Regions from separate parts of the Homo sapiens genome. Here regions 1, 2, 3, 5 and 6 are each linked to region 4. The links are contacts of gene promoters, found by promoter capture Hi-C in blood cells and fetal thymus (Javierre and others, 2016). All regions are on one chromosome and are shown on one strand. The core of a region is centred on a gene start or on the middle of the fragment in contact, and the rest is flanking DNA. Distances in the headings are between cores, read along the strand shown. Region 1 has its middle 2.3 kb from the start of SPTLC2. Region 2 overlaps POMT2 (protein O-mannosyltransferase 2). Region 3 overlaps TMED8 (transmembrane p24 trafficking protein family member 8). Region 4 holds the start of GTF2A1 (general transcription factor IIA subunit 1). Region 5 overlaps AHSA1 (activator of HSP90 ATPase activity 1). Region 6 overlaps LINC02328 (long intergenic non-protein coding RNA 2328).

Region 1 (4,042 bases), core at 831-3,330, 3.6 Mb after region 4:
AAAAAAAGAAAAGAAAAGAAAAGAAAAGAAAAAAAGAAATAAATTAAATTTAACAGAATTTAACTGAGCAAATAATGATCCTCAAATTGGGCAGCCCCCATCCAGAATCAGAAGGTTCAGAGAGATTCCAGCACTGTCACATGGTGAGACAGGATTTATGAATAGAAAAAGGAAAGCAACATACAGAAAACAGAAGTGAGACACAGAAACAGTTGGAATGGTTATAGCTTGGCATTTGCCTTATTTGAACACTGAACAGTTGGCTGCCTGTTGAGTGGTTGAAGTATGGCTTCTGTGATTGCCTGAGGCTTGGCTACTTGTTTGGGTTTTTTGTTTGTTTGTTTTTGTTTTTGAGACGGAGTTTTGCTCTTATTGCCCAGGCTGGAGTGCAATGGCGCGATCTCGGCTCACTGCAACCTCCACCTCGCGGGTTCAAGCGATTCTCCTGCCTCAGCCTCCCGCCCGCCACCACGCTGGATAATATTTTTGTATTTTTAGTAGAGATGGGGGTTTCACCATGTTCGCCAGTCTGGTCTCGAGCTCCTGACCTCAGGTGATCCGACCCCCTCGGCCTCCCAAAGTGCTGGGATTATAGGTGTGAGCCACTGCACCCGCCAGCCTCCTTCTTTAACATCCATTCTAAGCTATTGCTATTTGTCCTTTTCACTCCCGGGTTCTATCTCCTTGTAGTGAACACTGTTAGGGTTGTTCCTCCCTTCTCTGCTATGATTCTTCCTTGTCTATAACTGATTCCTCCCCTCCAGCAGTTTGACCTTGTGCTCTGGCCATTGCGATTGGTCAGATTTACCCATCCTCACCATAAGCTAGGCCAATCAGATTTCTTTTTCCTGAGAGTGTAGAAGTTTGACCTCATGAATATGAAAGTTGTAGGTTGTTGAGAGCTAAGCACCAGAAGTGGTTTGGTTAGGAGGAAGGAAGGTCTATAATTTTCTGCTGCTGAGGTTTAGGATTTTCCTGAGTGCCAACACTTCCCTGTCTTCAGGAGAGTTCCAATAAATTTACCTTTCTTGAATAAGTTTTTTAAAATTGGCTTATGTTATCTGCAACCAAAGAACCTCAATTAACACAGTCTCCATGTGATAGAAGGTTCCTTGGAGACAAGGCCAAAATTTTTTTTTTTTTTTTTTTTTGAGACAGAGTCTCTCTCTGTCACCCAGGCTAAAGTGCAGTGGCACAATCTCGGCTCACTGTAACCTCTGCCTCCCAAGTTCAAGCAAGTCTTGTGCCTCAGCCTCCAAGTAGCTGAGATTACAGGCATGTGCCACTACGCCCGGCTAATTTTTGTATTTTCTGGAGAGACGGGGTTTCACCATGTTGGTCAGGCTGGTCTCGAACTCCTGGCCTCACGTGATCCATCTACCTCGGCCTCCCAAAGTGCTGAGATTACAAGTGTGAGCCACCATGTCCAGCCAAGGCCAAATTTTAATTCATTTATCCATTTATGCATTCATCAAACATTTATTGAGCATTTGCTATGTGACAGACACGTGGTAGGTACTGGGAACCCAAAGATAAATTAGACAATCCCCTCAACTCACCAAGCTTGTTGCCTAATTGTAAGTATAAATGTATTCAATCAATCATTCATTCACTTAATAAGTACTTCATTTATCCAATGAATAATTACCAACACTCATTTAATATTATGTAACAGGTCTTGGCACTAAATGCTTTTGTTAATTCTCCAACTCTATGAGGTATATCCCATTTTACAGAAGAAGTACCTGAGTCATAGAGAGGTTAGGCAGCTTTGCCTAAATCATAAGGATTCTAGGTGCTGAAACCGGTCTTCAATTATGGTATATCTGACTGCAGAGCTCTTGCTTCTAAGCATTGTGTAACCTCCCTCTCAAAGAATCTCAAAGCAGTGTGATACATGCTTACACAGGTGTGTATAAAGCTCACAGAGGAGAAAGCAACTAATTTTGTGGGGAGGTTGGGGTTCAAAACAGGCTTCACAGTTGAAGTGGTTTGAGCAATCTTGAAGGAAGAGAAGGGTTGTCTTCCTGGTGCCTAGCACAGAACTTTGCATATGAACACTGTAAAATGATGATTAAGCGGCTTATGTTTCTGGAAGGAGTTGTTTTCCTGTTTACATGGAGTCTGGGGTGTTTCCTACTGCCTACTGCAGCATCATTTTTGTGATTTAGCAATGGCATGTGAAGTAATCAGATCATCTGTATATCACTGATGCTCACAGAAGCCTGTAAGGTAAGTAGTACAGGTACACACTTTGTAAGATGAGTGAGGAAACCAGGGCTGAGTTTGCATTACTTGTCCAAGACTATACATAGTGAGTAAGTGGCGGAACAAGACAAGGGGCCAGCCCCCTGAGGAGGGATCGGCTAACAGGACTCCTCAAATCTAGCCAGACTCCTTTACTCCTCTTAGCCTGCAGGTGAGGCTTTGATCTTTCTAGACTCGACACCCGAGTTTCTGAAGGTTTCCTCAGAACACCCTCCCCATCCTTCTCAGTTCCAGCTCTCCAAGTCCCGCTCATCTTCCAAGATCTGTCTCATTGCACATCTTCCTCGCAAGCCTTCTCCAGAGTCATTCAGCTCACTCCCTAAGCTTCAGTTAAATCCCTTAGCCCTGCTTCCATCCAGATTCCTGCCCTGAAAACTTTCTACCTGGTTAGACTCATCACTGCCATTCAGCTTCCCTCATCAGAACTCCTGTTGCCTAATCTCTCCAGCCTTAGGTTGGTCTTTAACTATTGTTTTCTTTCTATGTGTATATCTTGTCTCTCACTGAAATGTAAGCTCCATGAAGCACAGCCACATGTTTCCTTTTTAGCCTTATACATACAGATGTATATTCACTTTGGGATCAATAGTGTTTGTCAACTCAAATAGGATGTGTGGGATGAATGATCCCACCTTCTGTTAGATTATTCAGCTCCTAAGTCATGCAAAACCAATACCTTGTGGACCTCCTTTCTAAAGCTCCTGCAGGGTGGGGAAAGAATGCACGGATTCTCATAGGTGCATTTAGCAATTACTAGTAACCAACACTTAATGAATGCTTACTAATTGCTAGGTCCTGTACAAAATACATTACATACATAAACTTATTCAATCTTCACGACAACTATTATTGTCCCCACTGAACAGATGAAGACACATAGAGGTCACTCAGCTAGTAAGTGGCGCAGCTAGGATTTAAAACCCAGACCGACTCCAGAGTCCATACTCTCAATTATGATACTAAATTCTTTATGGATAACAGAAAGTCTCTAATTGTAATGTAGATCAATTTCCTTGCTTTCTAACCCCATGGGAAGATGGAACTAAAAGGGTGAGAAAATAATATTTATTATACTCCTACTATAAGCCTAGTATTATAAGAGGTGCATAATGGGTTAATGATATAATTCTTGCTGTAAGTCTATGAAGCAGGAAGTATTAACTCCATTTTAAAGAATTTGGCTTCTAAAGTGGTTAAACACAGTGCTCAAGTTTTAGCTTCCAGTTATTGGCAGAGTTGGAATTAGACCAGGTTTTCTAACTTTGAAGGAAAGACTTAATTTAAAGGAGACTGTATAGAAAACCCTGCCAAGGGCAAATGTGAAGGGCACGTGAAAAGGCATCTGAATTATTACTTATAATAATTCAGAAATAGTGAATGTGTGGCGCATATTGAAGAATGATGAGAGATTGTCAAAAAATCTATTCTATAAACACTCACAGAGGAATCAGCTAATTAAATAAGCGAGCTGCCTGTCTTGGGCTAGGACATAAACTCCAAAACTTCCCACGAGGCAAGGGCAAAGAGGGCGCCACCTGTCCTGGAGAACCTGGGAACCCGCTCTAGAGACTTCGGCTCAGCCCCTTTTATTTCCTCACACTCTAATTGGCTACTTTTCCCTGGGCTCCGCCTCCTCCTCGGTCTGGACCATTAAACAGGCAAGCCCTACCCCGGACCTGGATGCGGCCTCCAATCAGGTGCCAGGCCCTGGAGTCCCTCTAGAGAAGCCCCCTCTCCACCGGCGAGGCGCTTTGCTCTCGTCCGTGATTGGCCA
Region 2 (3,970 bases), core at 1,066-3,565, 3.9 Mb after region 4:
AGATGAGACTCCTGGGTTAGAGACAAAGGACTTTATTACAGGAAATAGGATGCATGTTAGAAGCAGTTTCCCTTGCCATCCAAGTCCCACAGGGTGACGCTATGGGTTTAAATGGATGACTGCACAGGCAGTGGGTTGCATCCAAGTGAAGGAACGACAAGCTTGGAAAATCTGCTGTTTTATAGAAGGCAGTACGCAGACCTCCTCTTTGTCCTGGAGGGAGACACTGCCTCTTCTCTCAAAGTTGCTTGCTGCAAACACAACCATGAGAAATGGCCCAGGTGAGATGCAGTCAGGGCCTTGCATTCTTGGTATACCCAGAATGATGTGTAGAGGCACGAGCAATCTGACAGCCTCTCTCACTCCTCGATTCTATGGTCTTGGCTTCTAGCAGATTTTCACATGAATATACAACTCCCCTGGCTACTCACATCTTTTCAGTTTGTCCCTTACAGCATTTAATTAAGGTTGTTGTCAATGGGACTCTAAGCAGCAGAATAAGGCCAGCTTACAGTATTTACCTCAACCATGCCCTCCAGGGTCCTGGATTCAGCCACTTGTGAATAAGTCCTGGGGGCACCGAGGAATCTTATTTCAGACATCTGGGCTGCAGTCTAAGACCAGTCTATTAACCACTGTGACCTGTGCACAGGGGTTCAGATTGATCTCTGATCTTTGGTGTCATTACCAGTAATTACAATAGCCCACTACCCTTGTAAAAATTTTTTTAAGAAAGTAATTACCAGGCTGGGCGCAGTGGCTCACACCTGTAATCCCGGCAGTTTGGGAGGCCGAGGCGGGCAGATCACCTGAGGTCAGGAGTTCGAGACCAACCTGGCCAACATGGTGAAACTCCGTCTCAACTGAAAATACAAGACTTAGCCGGGCATGATGGCGGGTGCCTGTAATCCCAGCTACTCGGGAGGCTGAGGTGGGAGAATCACTTGAACCTGGGAAGCAGAGGTTGCAGTGAGCTAAGATCGCACCATTGCATTCCAGCCTAGGCGACAAAGCCAGACTCTGTCTCAAAAAAAAAAAAAAAAAATTAACTACCATGATTAATGGAAAGATATTTTGTGACCCATTCTTCCTTACACTAACATATTACTTGGAGGAGTGCAGGCCACTCCAGGATTTTTGTTAGATTTTTATTTGGATCACCATCAAATTTGATTACCATTACAGTGGTTTAAACCACATGGGCAGTGTCACTGAACAGTTGCAGCCTCAATCACTAGACAAGGCATAACCTAAGTAAGGCCCTTAGGATCTCAGGAGAAGCATGTGATTTGTATCAGCCGCATTGATAGAAGGTGGTGCTGATCTGTGTGTTTGCACACCTATGAGGGAGGTCTGCGTTTGGGAGTTGGTGTTGATGTCATCAGGCACGTGGGAATAGTTCAAGACTGGCCGTGTCCATGTGAGTTTTTGTTTTCTTTTTTTATTTTCTTTTTTATACTGACCTGCTAGATAAAGTTTTTATGTTTTCATAGTGAGATGACAAACTCAGCCACAGGTCAGATTGCCAGCCACAGTTGCTGCTTGACCTAGATGGACCATGTGAATGTTTGCCAGGCTTTGGTGCTGGATAGGGACAAAGAGAACATTGTTTCCCTTCTCTTTACATCTCCAGGGTCCTGTGGTGTTCCTTCCCCAGATGCCAGGATTGTTTCTTTCCTTCCATTGCTACATAATGAGTGTGTCCTACCCTAGTAACTATAACTTCACCTTTTCTCCATTTATCCCCTACCAATACGCAGGCCTTCTAATATCCAATTGTTAGAAAATTGACAGAGGCCCATTATGTCTTCTACCTTGACACATGTGGGCCACTGTAGGGGGACTTTAAAAGCACTATACCCAACCAAATGATCATTAACTTTATGTTCTGGCACCAGGCCATTCCAACAAGACAATCTAGTGACTGAACTAGAATTAAGTCTGAATTACATAGATAGCCTCCTCCTCCCAGCTGATCTGGGCTTTCTGTAAGGGGGAAGAAAGATGAATCATGGCCAGAAATGGTCAGGGGAGAATCTCACATTTTCAAAATAGGTTTATATAACCCTCCACCCCTTTTTCCTGATCATTACCCAGTTGGTAGGCAAAAGGAGATGACCCATTTCTGAGAATGGCTGCCTTAGGTGACCAAACTGCTTCAGTAAGGTTTGCAGACCAGGAGGAGGTTAAAAACATAGAATCAAAAATCTTTTTGAGTTGATCTTTGAGGGAACTGTTCAGTACTTGACAATGTCATGCCTGTGGATGGTAGGGAGTGTGGGAGGTCCATCGAATACCTTGGCTATTGACTGTTGACACTGTTGGGTGGCCATTGCGACAAAAAGATATGCCAGTGTCAGACTGTAGATGGTTTGGAAAGCAGAAAACCTGGCAGTTTAGTTTCAAGGGCCACAGTGGTATACACAGAGTCAGATAATTGGACTGGAAAAGCAACATCAGCACTGTAAACTGAAAAAGTATCAGCAGTAGCAAGGTACTGATGAGAGCCTAGAGAAGGGAACAAAGTCCTAATGTCAATCTCCCAGGAGCAGGTGTGGTCAGTGCCCCTTGCAATGTGGCTTCCTTTACTGCAAGACAAGCAGGCCAACTTTTGGCAGGAGTCACAAGTCTGGCACGCAGTGGTGGCTTCTGCCTCAGAAACATGTAGTCCCTTACGTTGTGCCTAGCCCATGATGGTAGATGTTTCCACACCGGTTGCATGAATCCAGGTGGCTATGGCAGCAGTCTTGGTGGTGCAGGCTGGATCAGCAGTTTGATTCCAGTCAGTCTTACGAGAGTACCTGCCCTTAGTGTGGGCACCTACGTGAGTGATCCAGTCTGTCCTATTGGCAGGCAGCCATGATGTGTTTCCACACTTCTCAGCTTTCATCTCTCAGTATTTAGTCTTCCAAGTGGCATACCAAATGCTTCAATCCTTACTGCCATCAGCCATCCAGAGTTATCATTGGGGCTAAGTGCCTGCTGCTGCTTGGTGGGCAACATCAGCTTTTAACTCAGCCTAATCATTGGTGAGCCAGGCCTAAGCATTTACAGGAACCCCTGTGAATCAAGGGCCCTACTGAACAGCAGCTCGGCTTCAGGTAGCAGAGAAGGTTGTTTCTCCCAGAGTGGGAGCTGCCACTTCTTCACGTAAAACCAAGATGCCTCTAGGGCCAGGCTAGCTATACTCTTTTTTTTTTTTTTTTTTTTTTTTAGAGATGAGATCTGACTCTGTTGCCCAGTCTGGAGTGGAGTGGTACAATCATAGCTCACTGCATCCTCAAACTCCTGGGCTCCTCCTGTCTCAGCCTCCTGAGTAGCTGGCACTACAGGCACGTGCCACCATGTCCAGCTAATTAAAACAGATTTTTTAAGAGCTGAGTTCTCACTATCCTGCCAAGGCTGGTCTTGAACTCCTGACCTCAAGCCATCCTCCTGCCTCAGCCTCCTGAATAGCTGGGATTACCAGCTGTACTCTTGAATGTACTATTTCCATAGGATCAGTGAGGCTTGTTAAACCCTTCCCTTGTTATCAGTAGATTCCCATTGACCCACCCCAAAGTGGGAATACTAGGCCAGGGAGTCCTGAGGCCTTTATGGGTCTGGCAATCAATTTCAAAGTGTTGAGTAGTTAACTAAGGAGTTAATAGCTGTCCTTTTAAAAAGGGTGTGCTTGGTACCTATGTCCAGCAGGTGGCACTGTGATTCTGGTGCATGGCTCTCAGTACTCCAGCAGCCACAAAGTTGTTTTTTGTTTGTTTGTTTTTGTTTTTTGAGATTCTCGCTCTGTCGCCCAGGCTGGAGTGCAGTGGCGCAATTTCAGCTCACTGCAACCTCTGCCTCCTGGCTTCAAGCAATTCTCTGCCTTAGCCTCCCGAGTAGCTGGGATTACAGGCGCCCCTATCACGCCTGGCTACCTTTTTGTATTTTTAGTAGAGACAGGGTTTCACCATGTTGGCCAGGCTGGTCT
Region 3 (3,981 bases), core at 430-2,929, 3.8 Mb after region 4:
TCTTGCTTGTTTATTTATCTAGAGCCCTTGATGTTGTGTTTTAGAGGTTTCGCAAATATTTGCTGAGTTTGATGGTGAGAGAAAGTCTGAATGCAGAGATCTGGATGAGCATCTAATGAATGTGAAGAATTAGGGTTGAGATAACCAAGAATGTTCCTTGGGTTAGAGCAATGGTTTTCAACCAGGTACGATTTTGTATCCCCAGGGCATGGCAATGTTTGGAAACATTTTTGCTCGTCACAACTGGTGGCAGCTATTGCTGACATCTAGTGAGGATAGGCTAGGGATGTTTGCTAAACATCCTGCAAGGCACAGGGCAATCCCCATAACAAGGAGGTATCTGGCTCCAGATGTCAGTGGTGCTGCTTTTGGGAACGCTGTGTTAGAGTTAAGCTGGGCTTCCAAAGCAGTGTGGAAATACTATATTTGGCCTGGACCAGAGGCTTGGGCGTAAACCCCAAAAAACTGCTTTAAACTTGGAATTCGTTTGATTGGATCCTTCTGCCATCTTCCTCTAGAAAATGATACAATGAGTAAGCAATAGAGCTCTAAGAAAGAATGAAATTTAATGAGATTTCTCTCACCCTTTCAGAGAGAAAACAGCAGTAAGAAATGGAATTGGATATTCAGGTGTTCTGTTAGTCCATTTGGAATACCTGAGACTGAGTAATTTATAAGAAAAGAGTTTTAATTGGCTCATGGTATTGCAGGGTGTACAGGAAGTGTGGTGTTGGTATCTGTTTCTGGTGAGGGCCTCAAGAAGCTTAGAATCATACTGAAAGGGGGAGCAGGTATGTCACATGGCGAGAGTTGGGAGTGAGAGAGAGAGAGACGGGAGGAGGTCCCAGACTCTTTTAAACAACCATATCTCAGGTGAACTAACTGAGTGAGAACTCACTTATCATCAAGAGGATGATGCCAAATCATTCATGAGGGATTCATCTCCACGATCCAGTCACCTCCCACCAGACCTCACCTCTAACATTGGAAATCACATTTCAGCGTGAGATTTGGAGGGAACAAACATCCAAGCCATATCAGGTATTGTTGAGTTAAGGGTTTTGGTTTTTTGGTGTATCTTATTCCTTCAAAGCAGGAATGTGTCATTATCCAGAATAACCATAACTTGTTTTTTAAAAGTGTTCTCTGCAGAGAATACCTATTGAGTGTCTTCATGTTTGTTAGCTGAGGTTTTGGTGAAAAGGAAGGAAAGGATTTATGTTCTTATGAACTAAGCTCTCCAGTGGTCATGGTGTTCTTATTGTTTTATGCATTGTAATTGTTTTTAATAGTCTTTTATTTGAGGCACCTGGGTTCTTCAGTTCCCCAGAGGAGAGATAAATCATTCTTTAATTATGAAACTATCTGAGGCATACTTGTTGCATCACTTAAAGGCAGGTTTTTTTGTTTTTGTTTTTGTTTTTTTTTTAAGTTTAAAGGAAAATAAAACTCTATTGTGATCCTGAAGTCAGCAGTAGAACTTAGTTTGGTGTGTATGTCCCCCAGAGCTATCAATACATTTAGATGTTGAGGATGGAAACAGGTCAGGTAAACTTGTTCATGGTTCTAAGGTAGAAGTTAGAATATTACAATAAGTCTTTTTGCAGTGATGAAAATATTTCATATCTGTCCCAGCTACTCAGGAGGCTGAGGCAGGAGAATCACTTGAACCCAGGAGGCAGAGGTTGCAGTGAGCCGAGATTGCACCACTGCACTCCAGCCTGGGCGACAGAGGGAGACGCTGTCTCAAAAAAAAAAAAAAAAAAAAAAAAAAAAAAATATATATATATATATATATATATATATATATATATATATATATATAATATCTGTGGCTATTTCAATGTGCATGAATTAAAATTCAAAATTTGGTGGCTACCATGTTGAATGGTAAGAATAATAGGGAGTCAATGACAAACAGCCTTGATGTTTTTTAGTTTTCTATTGTGGTTTTATGTCAAAATGTTAACATTTTGTCTGCCTGTGGCTTTCTTTTTCTTACAGTGGTTGTGTTTTTAGTGTCCAGATAGTCGATTAGTCAGATAGTTGATTATTCATGTCGTGATTCAGTCTAAACAGTATAACCAAAGGTGCACAATCTGAGTGACCTCTCAGGAGCATGTCCCACTCAAGGGCTGAAGAGAAATTGGATCACATGGTCACTAGATTTGGTTGGAACATAAACTCACTTAATTTGTTTTCGTTTAAGCCTCTTGAGTCTGTAACCACATAGCCTGCTTTTAGTTCTTCTGCACTGGAATCTAAAATGACAGGCTAATTATCTCTTTGCAGCCTGTTTACTGAGGGGGAAATCCTCTGAGGCCTGTTCTAAAGAACCCTGACCTGATATTCAAATGCTTTTGAAAAAAACCTGCTTTTTGGTTCTCCTTGTAGGGAAAGTACGAAGTACACAGTAAGTTTGAATCCCTAGCATGATCAGAATGTCTGAAACCAGACCCTTTGGTAATGTAGAAAGAAAATGCACATTTAAAAAGTTGTCAAATATAAAATAAGTTATTTTAAGGAAGTTCCTTTTTTCTCTCTCACCTTTGCTTTAGTGGCCATCAATGATAAATTAAGTTATTGTTAAGCTTCCATTTTTCCTCCTCCGTTCATTGTTTCCGAGATTTCGGCCACTGAGGAACCATGGTAATGACTTTGCCACACTGGAGAATACCGTTACAGTATTAGTTATTTACTATTTTTTCTTGACATTGACATTTAATTGACATTTTGATTGACACTTAAAAGTTTCATTCTAAATAATACCTACGATATTACTAGTTTGATATATCCATTTTTCTTAATATATACTAGAATACATATTTTTAAAAATAAAAAACATTTCCCCACATACCATCTAAATTTGCAAAGTCTGGCCTGATTTCTCTGATCTCTTCTAGGAATACTTTCAGAATTGGCTTATATTTGGCTAATATAATAAAAGCTATACTATAGGAAAATTGGCTTTTTCTTCTGCATAGTGGCTTAAATTTCACTGAAGAACTTCAGGAAACCTAAAAGGCTGTGCTCATAATTCTCTCTCACTGAAACAGCGCTGCATCTCCCACACTTTATACTTCTGGAAATAAAGTTATGTTTTTCTTTCTCCTTTTCTTACTTCCTGCCTCTCTGAATCCAATTATAAGTTGTTTTACCAGTAGTTCTTATGTAATTTAGGGCATTCTTTAAAATTAAAAATAATTTAGGGCATTCCTTTAAAGTTAAAAATCAAAAGCTCAACTCCTTATGGGATGGAAAGAAAAAAAATCAAAAGCATATTTTTTTCCAGTATACATTAAGTTGTTAAAATGCTATGAGAAGTGGTGCTTACCATGTGAAAAATGCTCAACCTAAATCATAATAAGGGAATTGGAAATCCTAACTACACTTGGTAGTTTGCTAACTCACTTTGTTGGTCGGTGTGCAGAAGCAGACACTCTCATGCTTTGCTAATGAGATTGTAAATTGGTACAGATTCTGTGGAGGGCAACTTGTCAATATCCATCAGAATTACAATATATGCCCCTTTGACTCATTCTTTCCAGGAATTATAGATTTATTTATTCTCCTGTTTAATGACATAGATACAAGGTTATTATGGCATTGTTTGTAATGGTAATACATTATGGAATATTCACCCAATGAAATACTAATCAGCTGTAGAAAAGAATGAAGAAGCTTTTCATGTGCAGTTATGGAAAGGTCTTTGAGATATAAGTGGAAAGAACAAAGTACACAGTAGTATGTCCAGCATGCTCCCCCCGACCTTTTTTTTTTTCTGAGACAGAGTCTCGCACTGTTGCCCAGGCTGGAGTGCAATGGCGTGATCTTAGCTCACTGCAACCTCCGCCTCCCGGGTTCAAGCGATTCTCCTGCATCAGCCTCTCAAGTAGCTGGGATTACAGGCACGCACCACCACGCCTAAGCATGCCCATTTTTTGTGTAAAAAAGTGAAAAAGTATACACACACACACACAC
Region 4 (3,911 bases), core at 144-2,643:
TTAACAGGGGAATGGACTTGGCGTGAAAAGAAATGTCAAGGTTCATAGATATCCTCTACACCCATTCACAATCTCCCATTTTCTGAGTATTCAAGGCCTCTGGTTTCTCTAATCCCTTTCTTCAAGTCTTGGCAAGATGCATTTTTTTTCCTCTTTGGTAAGACGCCTTTGATATTCTTCAAATCTGGTTTCACCAGCACAGAACTTTGACGTTTCGTTTTGCTTTGTCTCTGGAAGACAAACTCCCTCACTCATCCACGCGACATTTCAAGTCCCTCAAAATTCCCAGGGACAAGAAAACTAGGTACTATGAATTCTGCCTTCCAAACAGCATTCTCTGTTCTGCTTGCAAGGTCGATATAAAGGCAGGATTTGCTTGGGCAGAACAAGTCAAAAGCTTATTGAATTGCACTTATTGAATTGAACATGGAACACAGCCGGCTTGCTCTCTTATAGCGAGAGGCCATGCGAGTTGGTGGGTCAAGGGCATGCATTTCAAAGTGATCAGTCACTATACGTTGGCCACATGGAGTCGCAGTATTTTGGCAATATTTTTAAAAACCAGGGAAAGTTACTGTGCTGTTACAATCCAAAGGCTGGTGGGGTTTTCTTCCACCCCGCATTTCCACTAGCGTGATAAATTATTTAAAGTACGTGGCCTAGTAGAGGACTAACCTCTGGGTAACATAAGCCTAGTCTTCGCAGCGTACCCACTGTGGAAACAAACGAATCAGACGTTACTAATTGTGGAATGTTAAAAGTAGGCCCCGATCGGCTTTTACTCCCTTTGGAAAATCCTACACAATTCTGCGCGCGAAAGACCCACCCTCGGTGAGGCGGTGAGGCGCGAACGCCGCGAAGCTCACAGTCAAAGCCTCGCTGACAAATCAAGAGATGACTCCGCATTTAAAACCTTCCCGAATAGGAACGCGCCAGAGGCCGGAAGCCACGCCACGTGACCAGTCCTCCTCCGCGGCCATTCCTAGCGAGGCAGTAGGCACCGCCTCTGTCACATTTCCTAGCTCCTAAAGCGCGGGACCAGGCGGAAACGTGCGACAGGAGGCGGTCCCACCTAGCTTTGGACTGGAGTGTCAGTAGAACTCCCGTCTTTTCCAGCAACGCTTTGCAAGTTCTTCACCGCAAAGAACTGCCGCAGACTTCCGCCTGGGTGCCAACCACGTGATCACGCGAGCGTTGGAGAGGCGTAGGTCCGATTTCACTACTTCACTCCCCGGGCTCCGCCAGTCCAGTACCCGCCACGGCGCGTGACAACGCGGCTCGCCGGCGGCCTCCGCCCCGGCGCGCCTGCGCACGCGGCTCTCGCGGTGTCTCGCGCTCAGCCCCGCCCACCTCTGCCCCCGCCCTTTCCGCCCCTCCCTCCCCCTTCACCCTGTCTCTCGGCGGCGGCGGCGGCGGCGGTGGTGGCTCGCGCAGCTTGTTGGCTCGCTATATAAAGGAGAGAAGCGGGCGGACCGGACGGCTGGAGCTGCAGCCGGTGGCGGCAGCGGCGGCGCAGGGAGCGGTGACCGGTGGTGGTTTCCCTCCTTGGCGCGGGGTGGGGAGCGGGCAACGCCCCCCGGACCCCTGAAGGGTCGTGGCTTTTTTTTTTTTTTTAAGGCGATTCTCGAGGTTTTCAGCTGCGGGAGGAGTGCCCCCCTCCTCCTCCTCTCTCCGCTCTCCCCTACTCCTTCAGGATTGATTTTGTTTAAAATTTTTTCCCCAATCTTGCGGTGATTTGGGTCACCCTCCGGGTGTTATAGTTTTTTTTTTTTTGGTTTTGTTTTTATCTTGTTTTCTTGGGGTTGCCCCCTCTTGTTTGTGTTGTGTGTGGAAATGGCGAACTCGGCAAATACAAACACCGTGGTAAGGACGTGGTTCGGTGGCCGGCGGGGGCTTCGTTCAGGCTGCAGCAACGGCCGGACCGGGCGGGGGCGGGGACGGCGGCGACTCCCGGCCTCGACTCTTCAGCCGCCCGCGCGGCCGCCGCCGCCGCCGCTTCCCGCCTCGGGCGGATCGGGCCGGAGCGCCGGGCGGCGGGCGCGGGGGGGCGCCGAGGGCTCGCGGCGCGGGGAGGGCGGGGGCGCCGGTGGGGCCTGGGGCCGCCGCGGGCCGGGCCGGGCCGCGGAGGCGGTTGGGCCCGGTCGGGCGCGCAGCCCCGGCCCCAGAACCCGGCCGCCGGGAGGGAGGGCGGGAGGGGAGCCGCCGCTTCCCCCCGAGGGGCCCGTCCGCGCTGGCTTGACGAGGGCTCCCCGAGTGGCTACAGAACAAAAACTGTGTGTGGGGAATCGGGCGAACCCCCGAGACCCATCGTGATCCACTTTAATGCAGTGGAAGATTAATGGTTACTTTGGGGGTTTCTTAGGTTGTTTTTGGCGGCTGTGCTTTGGGAACCTTCTCTGAGGCCATTTTATGTTTAAAAAAAGGACGAAGGTTGGTTGAAAAGCACTTATCTCAGTTCCTTCCGAATGGGTAAAATGGCGAAGGGGAAGACCCCCATCGTATCTTCGCCTAGCAGAAGCACCAAAACAAACAAAAAAAGCCTGCAGTGGTCCAAGTGTCCCCGCTTTCGCCTTGAAATTTACCTACTTCTTCCCGTTGGTCCCTTTTTGTTACTTGCGATCACGTAGGTTTGCAAAAAGCAGTCACATAAATAACCTTTTCAGTCACCAACGCAGTGTGATCACTAGTCCACCCAACTCTTATTTTTATGATGACAATAAAACACGTTTTTTGCCCGGTCCCAAATGCCGCAGACCAGCCCGCGGCCGCCCGACACCGTACCGTTGGCGACTCGGGTCTAACCATCATGGCTGCGGCCGCTTACCCTGCTTTTCAGTCCCTGAGCCTTGTGGTCCTCCTCCCTTTGGCTGCCCTGTTTATATAGAGCCATTGCCGCTCTCTAATATAGACTCTGCCAGGATGGGAAGGTGCTTTTCAGGCCTACGTCACCGCCTCTCCATTTAAACACCAGATCCGGCTTTAAATAGTGAGAGCTGCTGAGAGCGGGGCTGGGAGGTGCGTGCTCCCGAGGCAAGAGCCAGGCGTGTGCAGAGCTCAGTTTATTTCTAGGTCCTTTTTTCACCCTGTGATTTCGCACCCGTCGCGGGCTGCTTTCAGAGCCCCAAGTTTTGGTTTTGTTCCCAGCAGCAGCTAGGATTTGCCTTCTTTGTTTGCTAGGGGGAATATATCCGAATCGCTGTCCCTTTTTGTTTACAATTTTCAAAATTAATTATTTAAAACAAAGAGTTTTAGATCAGATGGTCTAGCCATTTTTCTTATGTGCATTATTTTCGGGAATTTAAAAAACTGCTTTCTACATGGAAAATGTTAGCTGCAGAGGACTTGGTTTTGGTAGTGTTTTGTTCAAGTATTCAGGAAATAATGTTAGAAATATAGCTCCTAATATTTCATTATGTTTTCCTATAGTAAATATAAAAGACACGAGGCTTTTCAGAGAAATAGATAAGTACCTAAAGCTTCAGTATAGGACCATTTATGTGTAGGAGAATCGTGAGTAGAGGGAAGAGACAGACTGCAAACTAGATTAAAAAAAAATCTAAGTAGAACTTTATTGCCTTGGATATTAACATGGGTATCCGGTATAAAAATTATTCCAATTTATTTTCCAGCATTGCATCAGGGAATTAACATTTTTGAAGGAAACCTAACAAATGACTTAATAATGCCACTAGTGGCCCTCTGATTTACCAGTTCTTAAGTTTGAAATAACCTGTTTTTTAAAAATTAGGACAAACTTAAATTGTATTTCGTGAAAGAAACTTTGCCTCAAGTATTAGTGTAGAATTTTAAGCAATAATTTAGAAATTGCTTATTTCAAATACTCCTATGTGCCCACATACTTTTCAAAAATTAGTATCTTGAAGGCTTTTCAAATTGTGAACAATTCTGCT
Region 5 (4,029 bases), core at 1,313-3,812, 3.8 Mb after region 4:
TACTGCGGTATTCGTACAATCCCCATTAGTGTTCCTTCTTGAGTCCTCTCTGTCAAGTGGCTAATGTTAGTTAGAACCCATGTCACTAGCTAAAGTGAAGAAATTAAAGAAGTGCAAATTGCTCTAGAAGTTTCCAATGGCACCATATGCCTAGAAAATTATCTGCAGGCTAGGGTTCTGAATGCTTGGACCAAGCCTGGGCTATGAATCCTGAATGACAGGTCACTTTTCTCATCTGAGAATAAGAGGATATAGAGGACTCGGATTAGGAGTTATGAAGCACAAACCTCCACTTCATCCACGCTGTTTTCATCAGACAAATTGGGGATCTCCACATGTCCTTTGTATTGTACTCCTGACTTAGAAGTACCTGTCAAAACCAATGCAATGTCATTAGTCCACTCCTTGGCAGGAAAGGTCTCTGCTCCAGGGTCCTAACTGCTACCTCACTTCTGCTGCTTTTGGATGGCTGAACTGATCCTCTTTATTCTGAGAATGCCACATGCCAGATGCAATCAACACCCGCACCCCCAAAAGAAATGTCTTTCCTCACCAGGTTACTGGAAACCAACTATGTTATTACAATGTGAGACAAAGAGCTACAGATTTGGTACTAGCATGAGTTATACCATGAGAACTTGGGTCAAAAGCCAGTAGTTCTGCTAGAATACTTGTTTTGAAAATATCAATTTATTTCAGTGCAACTGAAATATTAGGGAACAATTTGATTATAATGAGAAGTTCATGTTTGCTTATATGTGACTCCATCCATGAGAAACACTAGGTGAATACGGAAAGCCTCACCCAGCTACACAGGATACATAAAACACACACATCTCAAACACCTATCTGCCAATGACCTCAGTTTACAGCGTGTGTTGTGAGCCATACCCATCCTCAACGAGTGTAATGTTCCCTCTGATTGTGGATGACTCTCCTTCTACCATTCCATAGTAGTCCTCAAGCTGCAACCCTTCTGATGCCCACCTTTTCCCCCCGCAAGACAGAGTCTTGCTCTGTCGCTCAGGCTGGATTGCAGTGGCATGATCTTGGCTCATTGCAACCTCCACCTCCCAGGTTCAAGCAATTCTTCTGCTTCAGCCTCCCAAGTAGCTGGGATTACAGGTGCGTGCCACTACACACGGCTAATTTTTGTATTTTTTAGTAGAGATGGGGTTTCACCATGTTGGCCAGGTGTGTCTCCAATTCCTGACCTCGTGATCCACCTGCCTCAGTCTCCCAAAGTGCTGAGATTACAGGCGTGAGCCGCCGCGCCTGGCTTTGATGCCCACTTTCACAAATAAACTTCAGGTCTTTTTCATGGTAAAGCACCATATTTATTGTAGTATTCACCTATTTTTTATTTTTTTTGAGATGGAGTCTCACTCTGTTGCCCAGGCTGGAGTGCAACGGTGCGATCCCAGCTCACTGCAACCTCCGCCTCCTGGGTTCAAGCGATTCTCCTGCCTCAGCCTCCCGAGTAGCTGGGACTACAGGCACATGCCACCACGCCGGGCTAATTTTTTGTATTTTTAGTAGAGACGGGGTTTCACTGTGTCAGCCAGGATGGTCTTGATCTCCTGACCTCGTGATCCGCCCACCTTGGCCTCCCAAAGTGCTGGGATTACAGGCGTTAGCCACCACGCCCGGCCTATATTTATCTATTTCTTACCATTTAATGTGCACAAAACTATGCTACCAATTTTTAGTCCCTATATTAAAAAAAAAAAGCGTCGGCCAGACACAGTTCGAGACCAGCCTGGCCAACATGGTGAAACCCATCTCTAATAAAAATACAAAATTAGCCGGGCGTGGTGGCGGGCACCTGTAATCCTACTTGGGAGGCTGAGGCAGGAGAACTGGTTAAACCCGGGAAGTGGAGGTTGCAGTGAGCCAAGATCGTGCCACTGCACTCCAGCCTGGGTGACGAGCAAAACTCTGTCTAAAAAAAAAAAAAGGAGGTCTGAGCAAGATGACACCGAAGATTCCTTCCACACTACTATGCTTCGAGTGTACTTTAAAAACAAATTAACAAAAATCATGGACAGATAGATCTACTTGCACCCTTCTTTATGATATGACTGTTCACTTCGGAAATGTTTATCAAAGCACAAATTTCATGCTTTGCCCCATACACAGACAGTAGCTATCTCATACTCCCTTAGCTTTAGTGCCTTTTTACATTCAGGCTCCCGACAGTCAGGACTGTCCAAAACGGTCATACGCATGACCTCAATTTTTTCCTAATGTCATACACAAGGGACATAAAACTAGAAGATAGATAAAACAGCCCCAAATTACTGTCACACACAAGCTTCATTAGCGCAGTGGTTTAATCTGTTAAGATTCACACTGAAGACAGTGCACAAAGATCAAGACCAAAAAAATCCTCTCCTTCCTCCTTTTAAATCACTCACAAGATACATGTAGCTAGTCTGAAGAAATATCATCGTAGGTGTCCCAACAAAGACCAAGGCCCAAAGATGCAGTGGCCCGGCCACTTCATGGATGGGACTTATGAGACCCAGACACAGGAAATCCATTTAGCATCCCACAATGGCAAAGAAATTCCAGGACTCGATACTGCTTTACATAGGACTCCAAAGCAGCAACATCTGCCTTCTCCCTTCAAGGTCTGTAACTCCTCAAAACTGTTCTCTCCAGCTACTTAACAGGTTAAACAAAACACAGTTAATCTCTCTGACAGCCCAGCTTAGACTTACCTGTCCAGTTTAGTTTGACGCTCCATTCATAAAAGAAGATAAGTTTCCCTTTGCGATTGTTAATGGATGCCTCTCCATCAAGCTTACTCACTTCCGTCACCTCACACTTGCCTTCTTCATTTTGAACCTGCACTGCCAGGAACAGTGTTTTCAGCTTATCCGTGGACCAATTTGAAGCATCTCTCTCCGTCCTGCAAAGCAGAAACAGAGCTATGAACCAGCAGTCAAACGGAGGATACGCTGCTCTATGCAAGAGAATACGAGGTTAAAGGAGGCCTGACAAATAGTTTGAAAAGAACACAAAAACTCCCAGTCGCACTCCAGTATGTCCACAAACATGTCATTCTTTTTTAGGAAGACAAGGGGTTGCACACTGTCAACAAAGACAGCTGCTGTAGAAAATGGTATAAACTCAATGGAAAATTATGCTCTCCTTTCTCGGCATGATGGTGCGGGGGAATACTTGATACTTTAACATGGCGCCCCCATTTGACCAAGTGGAAAACTGCACATATTGCTGAGATCAGGAACACAGACTGGACCATGAAAGAATAGTACTTAGCTAAAAGGCCCAGAAAGGATTAAACCAATAACCCTGACCTCATTGGCACGGTGTTCTGACCTATCAGATTCGCACTTGCATTATAAACTTCCTACACATTCACTGTCCCCTAGATGGCCACAAAAACGTTAAGTCCAGGGCTTCAAAACAAACAACAAAAATTAGGTCAAGTACTCTGCATGTTAAGAAGAGAGAATACAAAGTGAGATATGGAAAAGAAACATCACTATCTGCCTTCCTACTTATCAACTATTAGAGAAAACAACAGCAAAAAAGGCTGCAACAAAGTAACGGTACAATACAAACATTACGAAAAAAGTTCAGTGGAATTCAAAAATAAGGAAACTAATATTACTTTGGGAAGATTTCATGAAGGAGGGCAGTTATTTTAAGAACGGTCAGGTTATAAAACCACGGCTGCTCGGCAACCTGGAGTTCCAACACACCCGACCTGATAGTTCCGGGTGAGAGGCCGCAGCTATCTGAGCTCTGAGCACCTGCACAACACGTTCTCAATCTCCCGCGGGACCGCTGCAGCGGTCCCCTATGAATGACTTTTAATTTTACCGCAGGCCGCAAAATAGGAATTACAGACCCCTGGCCTTAGGCCTTTCACAGCTATCTCCCAACACAATCAAAGGAGGTTCCAGTCTCAGTGACTCCTCTGGCCACGTGTAATAAGCACCTCCCTGCTCGGGCTGGATGCAGCAGCCAGGGCGTTATCTCCTAGTCTCTCTGACAACC
Region 6 (3,635 bases), core at 199-2,698, 4.7 Mb before region 4:
ATCAAACAAACCAAAATATTTTTCTTTGCAAAGTTCAGTAAAGTTGACAAAATTATAGCCAGGCTAACCAAGATAAAAAAGAGAAGACAGAAATTATCAATATCAGAAATAAAAGAGTCATTACTACTGAACCCATGGACATGAAAAGAATAAAAAAAAGATTATAATGAACAATGTTATGCTAACATATTTGATAACAAAGCTTAAATAGCTAAACCTCCTGAAAGACAAACTATCAAAATTTATACAAAGGAAAATGAGAATTGTCCTGTATTTATTAAATAAATTCAATCAATATTTCATAACTTTAAAAAAAGAAAGCCTGAGAAACAGATGGTTTCAGTTAATGAATTCTACCAAACACTTAGGAAACAAATAATGCCGTTTCTCCACAACAGAAACAGAAGGGCCACTTCCTAACTTATTACATAATATCAGCATTTCCCTCCTACCAAAAGCAGATAAAGACATTAAGAGAAAAGAAAACTACTGACCAATATCCTTTAAGAACAGAAGCAAAATTTCTCAACTAAATAATAACAAATTGAAGAGAATGTATAAAAACAGTAATACACTACAACCCAGAAAGTTTATTTCAAGTATGCAAGGTTAACTCACATTCAAAAAAATCAACTAATGTAACAGACCCAGAAAAATTATGTGCCTGTATCAATTGAAACGAAAAAATTATGTGACAGAATCCATGCCCATTCAGCATGAAAACACACATCAAAGTAGGAATAGAGAGGGCCTTCCTTAATTTGGTGTTTTAAAATTACAAAACCTCCTACCGCTAGCATCATACTTTGTGGTGGGTGTCTGGAAAATTTTTCCTTAAGATCAGGAACAGACAAGGATGTTTTGTCATTACTTTTCAATTTTGTATTGGAAATACTAATTGATACAAAAGAGTAAGAAAAATAAATAAAAGGTATACAAATTGGAAAAAAAGAAATAAAACTGTCTTAATACACAGATGACATGATTTTCTATGTGGAAAATCAAAGCAACTATGAACAGCAGCAACTTAGAATAAATAGGCAAGTGGCTGGGCTCAGTGGCTCACGCTTGTAATCCCAGCAATTTGGAAGGCCGAGGCAGGTGGATCACCTGAGGTCAGGAGTTCGAGACCAAACTGGCCAACCTGGTGAAATCCCATCTCTGTTAAAAATACAAAAGTTATCCAGGCTTGGTGGCATGCGCCTGTACTCTCAGCTACTCAGGAAGCTGAGGCAAGAGATTTGTTTGAACCCAAAGGCGGAGGCTGCAGTGAGAATTAATAGGCAATTATAGAAGTTCACAAGATGCAAGGTTATTACACAAACGTCAAGTCCATGTTTACATACAAGCAAAGAACAATTGGGATTTATAATTTTTTTTAAAAAGAGGCATTTATTATAGCCTCCCCCAAACTGAAACAATGAAGTATTCACATACAAATATAACCATACATATATATTTAGGATCTATAGACCAAAAAACACAAAACAATGATGAAAAAATCAAAGAGTTGTGTAAATATATGGAGAGATGCCTCGTATTTACAAGTTTAAAGATTCAATATTCCCTTTTTTTTTTTTTCTCTTGAGACAGAGGTTCACTCTGTCACCTAGGCTGGTATGCAATGGCGTGACCTCGGTTCACTGCAACCTCCACTTCCCAGGTTCAAGCGATTCTCCTGCCTCAGCCTCCTGAGTAGCTGGGATTACACGCAGCCACCACCATGCCCAGATAATTTGTATTTTTTTAGTAGAGACAGGGTTTCACCATGTTGGTCAGGCTGGACTCGAACTCCTGACCCCGTGATCTGCCCGCCTCAGCCTCCCGAAGTGTTGAGATTACAGGTGTGAGCTACCACGCCTAGCCAAGATTCAATATTCTTAAGATGACAATTCTTCCAAACTCTCTCAAGTGATTCAATTGAATCTCAAAGAAAATCTTAGTACACTATTTTGGAGATATTGATAAGCTGATTCTAAAGTTTTATTGGGGTTCAGAAAATGACAACCCAAAATATGGCAGTTTGGCATGCTGAGTGCTTTGAAAAAAAAAATGTTGAAAGGCCTCAGAAATAAGCCTCAGGACCATGGCCTCTCTTTAATCTCTGCCCCCCCTTACCCCTTCCTTTATTGAAGCCTCAGGAAAACCCTTCTCTCAAGTTCCCTTATCTGATTAAAAAAGTTCCTCCAGAAGTCATGAAATTGTCTTAAAACACACTTCCTAGAAATTTCAACAGAAAACAGGGAAAGATTAACCACTGGAGAAGAGACTAGATCTGAAGTCATCACCACGCTCAGAGAGATTTTTCATCTAGACTTCTGAGGGAAGCTCCAAGAGATTACCAGGGACACTATCTGCATAATAAGACAAATTTTGTTCATGGTGAACATCTCATCACCTTCTCATAACTTGCCACCACCTCGCCCAGATCTCAAAAGAACTTTGTCTTTTTTTAGGCTAATTCATTTCTCTAAACATCATTGCCTATACTCTAAATTGCCTGCACTCCCATCTCCCTCTCCCCTATGAAGAGTGTTATTTAAGCTGCAGCCATCTGGCCCTTCTTTGAGACTCATATTTTCCATGGCTCCCATGCTTCTGCACATTAATAGAGTTATATGACTTTCTTTTGTTAATCTATCTATTGTCAGTTTTTTTCAGCAGCAAATCCTCAGAGAGCAGAAGAGAAGCTTTCCTTTTGCCTCTATAGGAAAAATTAAAAGGCAGAAGATCCAGAATAACCAACACAATCCTGCAGGAACAGAGGAATAATGTTGAGGATTCACACTATCTTATTTTAAGACTTACTGTAAAGCTACAATGATTAAGACCACATAGCATTGACCTCACCTCACCAAAAAAAAACCACATAGATCAGTGGAACAAAACAGAGAGCCTATAAATAGGCCCAAACATATATTCAAATGAATTTATAACTTCCCATTGGGTTCATCTTGCCCACTGCCTAGACAGGGCCAATTTACCAAGACAGGGGAATTACAATAGAGAAAAAGTAATTCACGCAGAGCCAGCTGTGCAGGAGACCAGAGCTTTATTACTACTCAAATCAGTCTCCCTGAGCATTCAGGGATCAGATGTTTTAAGGACAACTTGGTAGGCGGGGGGAAGCCAGTGAGCCAAGAGTGCTGATTGGTCAGGAAGGGGATAAAATCATAGGGAATTGAAGCTGTCCTCTTGGGCCAAGTCAGTTCCTGGCTGGAGCCACAAGATCAGATGAGCCAGTTAATTGATCTGGGTGGTGCCAGCTGATCCATCAAGGGGAGGGTCTGCAAATTTATCTCAATCACTGATCTTAAGAGCAGATTAGGGTTTTTTTGTTTTTTTTTTTTTTTTTTTTTCTGAGACCAAGTCTCACTCTGTCGCCCAGGCTGGAGTGCAGTGGCACGATCTTGGCTCACCACAAGCTCCACCTCCTGGGTTCACACCATTCTCCTGTCTCAGCCTCCCGAGTAGCTGGGACTACAGGTGCCTGCCGCCACACCCGGCTAATTTTTTTTTTTTTTTGTATTTTTAGTAGAGATGGGGTTTCACCATGTTAGCCAGGGTGGTCTCGATCTCCTGACCTCATGATCCACCCGCCTGGCCTCCCAAAGTGCTGGGATTACAGGCATGAG

What was found. Contacts are between HindIII fragments. The CHiCAGO score rates a contact against its expected background, and 5 or more counts as called.
Region 1: a contact is called between a fragment that was not itself captured here and the fragment with the promoter of GTF2A1 in region 4, in 1 of 17 cell types (naive CD4 T cells). The highest score is 7.6, in naive CD4 T cells.
Region 2: a fragment that was not itself captured here is called in contact with the fragment with the promoter of GTF2A1 in region 4 in 1 of 17 cell types (non-activated CD4 T cells); the score reaches 5.4 in non-activated CD4 T cells.
Region 3: a contact is called between a fragment that was not itself captured here and the fragment with the promoter of GTF2A1 in region 4, in 1 of 17 cell types (total CD4 T cells). The highest score is 6.2, in total CD4 T cells.
Region 5: a contact is called between a fragment that was not itself captured here and the fragment with the promoter of GTF2A1 in region 4, in 2 of 17 cell types (non-activated CD4 T cells and total CD4 T cells). The highest score is 11.5, in non-activated CD4 T cells.
Region 6: a fragment that was not itself captured here is called in contact with the fragment with the promoter of GTF2A1 in region 4 in 9 of 17 cell types (total CD4 T cells, non-activated CD4 T cells, total CD8 T cells and 6 more); the score reaches 15.1 in total CD4 T cells.

The regions. Positions count from the first base shown.
Region 1 is chr14:77,616,873-77,620,914 of GRCh38, reverse strand. No RefSeq gene overlaps it. Among named protein-coding and RNA genes, the nearest start is that of SPTLC2, 2.3 kb to the right of the region's middle. RefSeq lists a silencer at 3,852-3,911 and an enhancer at 3,951-4,042. The HindIII fragment of the contact is 1,029 bases long and covers 1,566-2,594 here.
Region 2 is chr14:77,315,811-77,319,780 of GRCh38, reverse strand. The region is part of intron 1 of POMT2 (protein O-mannosyltransferase 2); the gene reads left to right. Among named protein-coding and RNA genes, the nearest start is that of POMT2, 3.1 kb to the left of the region's middle. The HindIII fragment of the contact is 4,303 bases long and covers 164-3,970 here.
Region 3 is chr14:77,370,751-77,374,731 of GRCh38, reverse strand. The region is part of intron 1 of TMED8 (transmembrane p24 trafficking protein family member 8); the gene reads left to right. Among named protein-coding and RNA genes, the nearest start is that of TMED8, 4.4 kb to the left of the region's middle. RefSeq lists a silencer at 2,226-2,275. The HindIII fragment of the contact is 1,828 bases long and covers 766-2,593 here.
Region 4 is chr14:81,218,441-81,222,351 of GRCh38, reverse strand. It overlaps GTF2A1 (general transcription factor IIA subunit 1), which reads left to right and starts at 1,393. Exons shown (of 9, transcript NM_015859.4): 1 at 1,393-1,863. The coding sequence starts at 1,834. GTF2A1-AS1 (GTF2A1 antisense RNA 1) reads right to left here and starts at 1,134. Exons shown (of 2, transcript NR_135252.1): 1 at 827-1,134; 2 at 1-713. RefSeq lists silencers at 1,229-1,528, 1,559-1,608, 2,139-2,258 and enhancers at 2,599-2,688, 2,729-2,798, 2,671-3,179. The HindIII fragment of the contact is 3,079 bases long and covers 400-3,478 here.
Region 5 is chr14:77,458,501-77,462,529 of GRCh38, reverse strand. AHSA1 (activator of HSP90 ATPase activity 1) reads right to left here. Exons shown (of 9, transcript NM_012111.3): 2 at 2,724-2,914; 3 at 288-370. Among named protein-coding and RNA genes, the nearest start is that of AHSA1, 2.4 kb to the right of the region's middle. The HindIII fragment of the contact is 491 bases long and covers 2,317-2,807 here.
Region 6 is chr14:85,937,445-85,941,079 of GRCh38, reverse strand. The region is part of intron 1 of LINC02328 (long intergenic non-protein coding RNA 2328); the gene reads right to left. Among named protein-coding and RNA genes, the nearest start is that of LINC02328, 4.6 kb to the right of the region's middle. The HindIII fragment of the contact is 2,488 bases long and covers 205-2,692 here.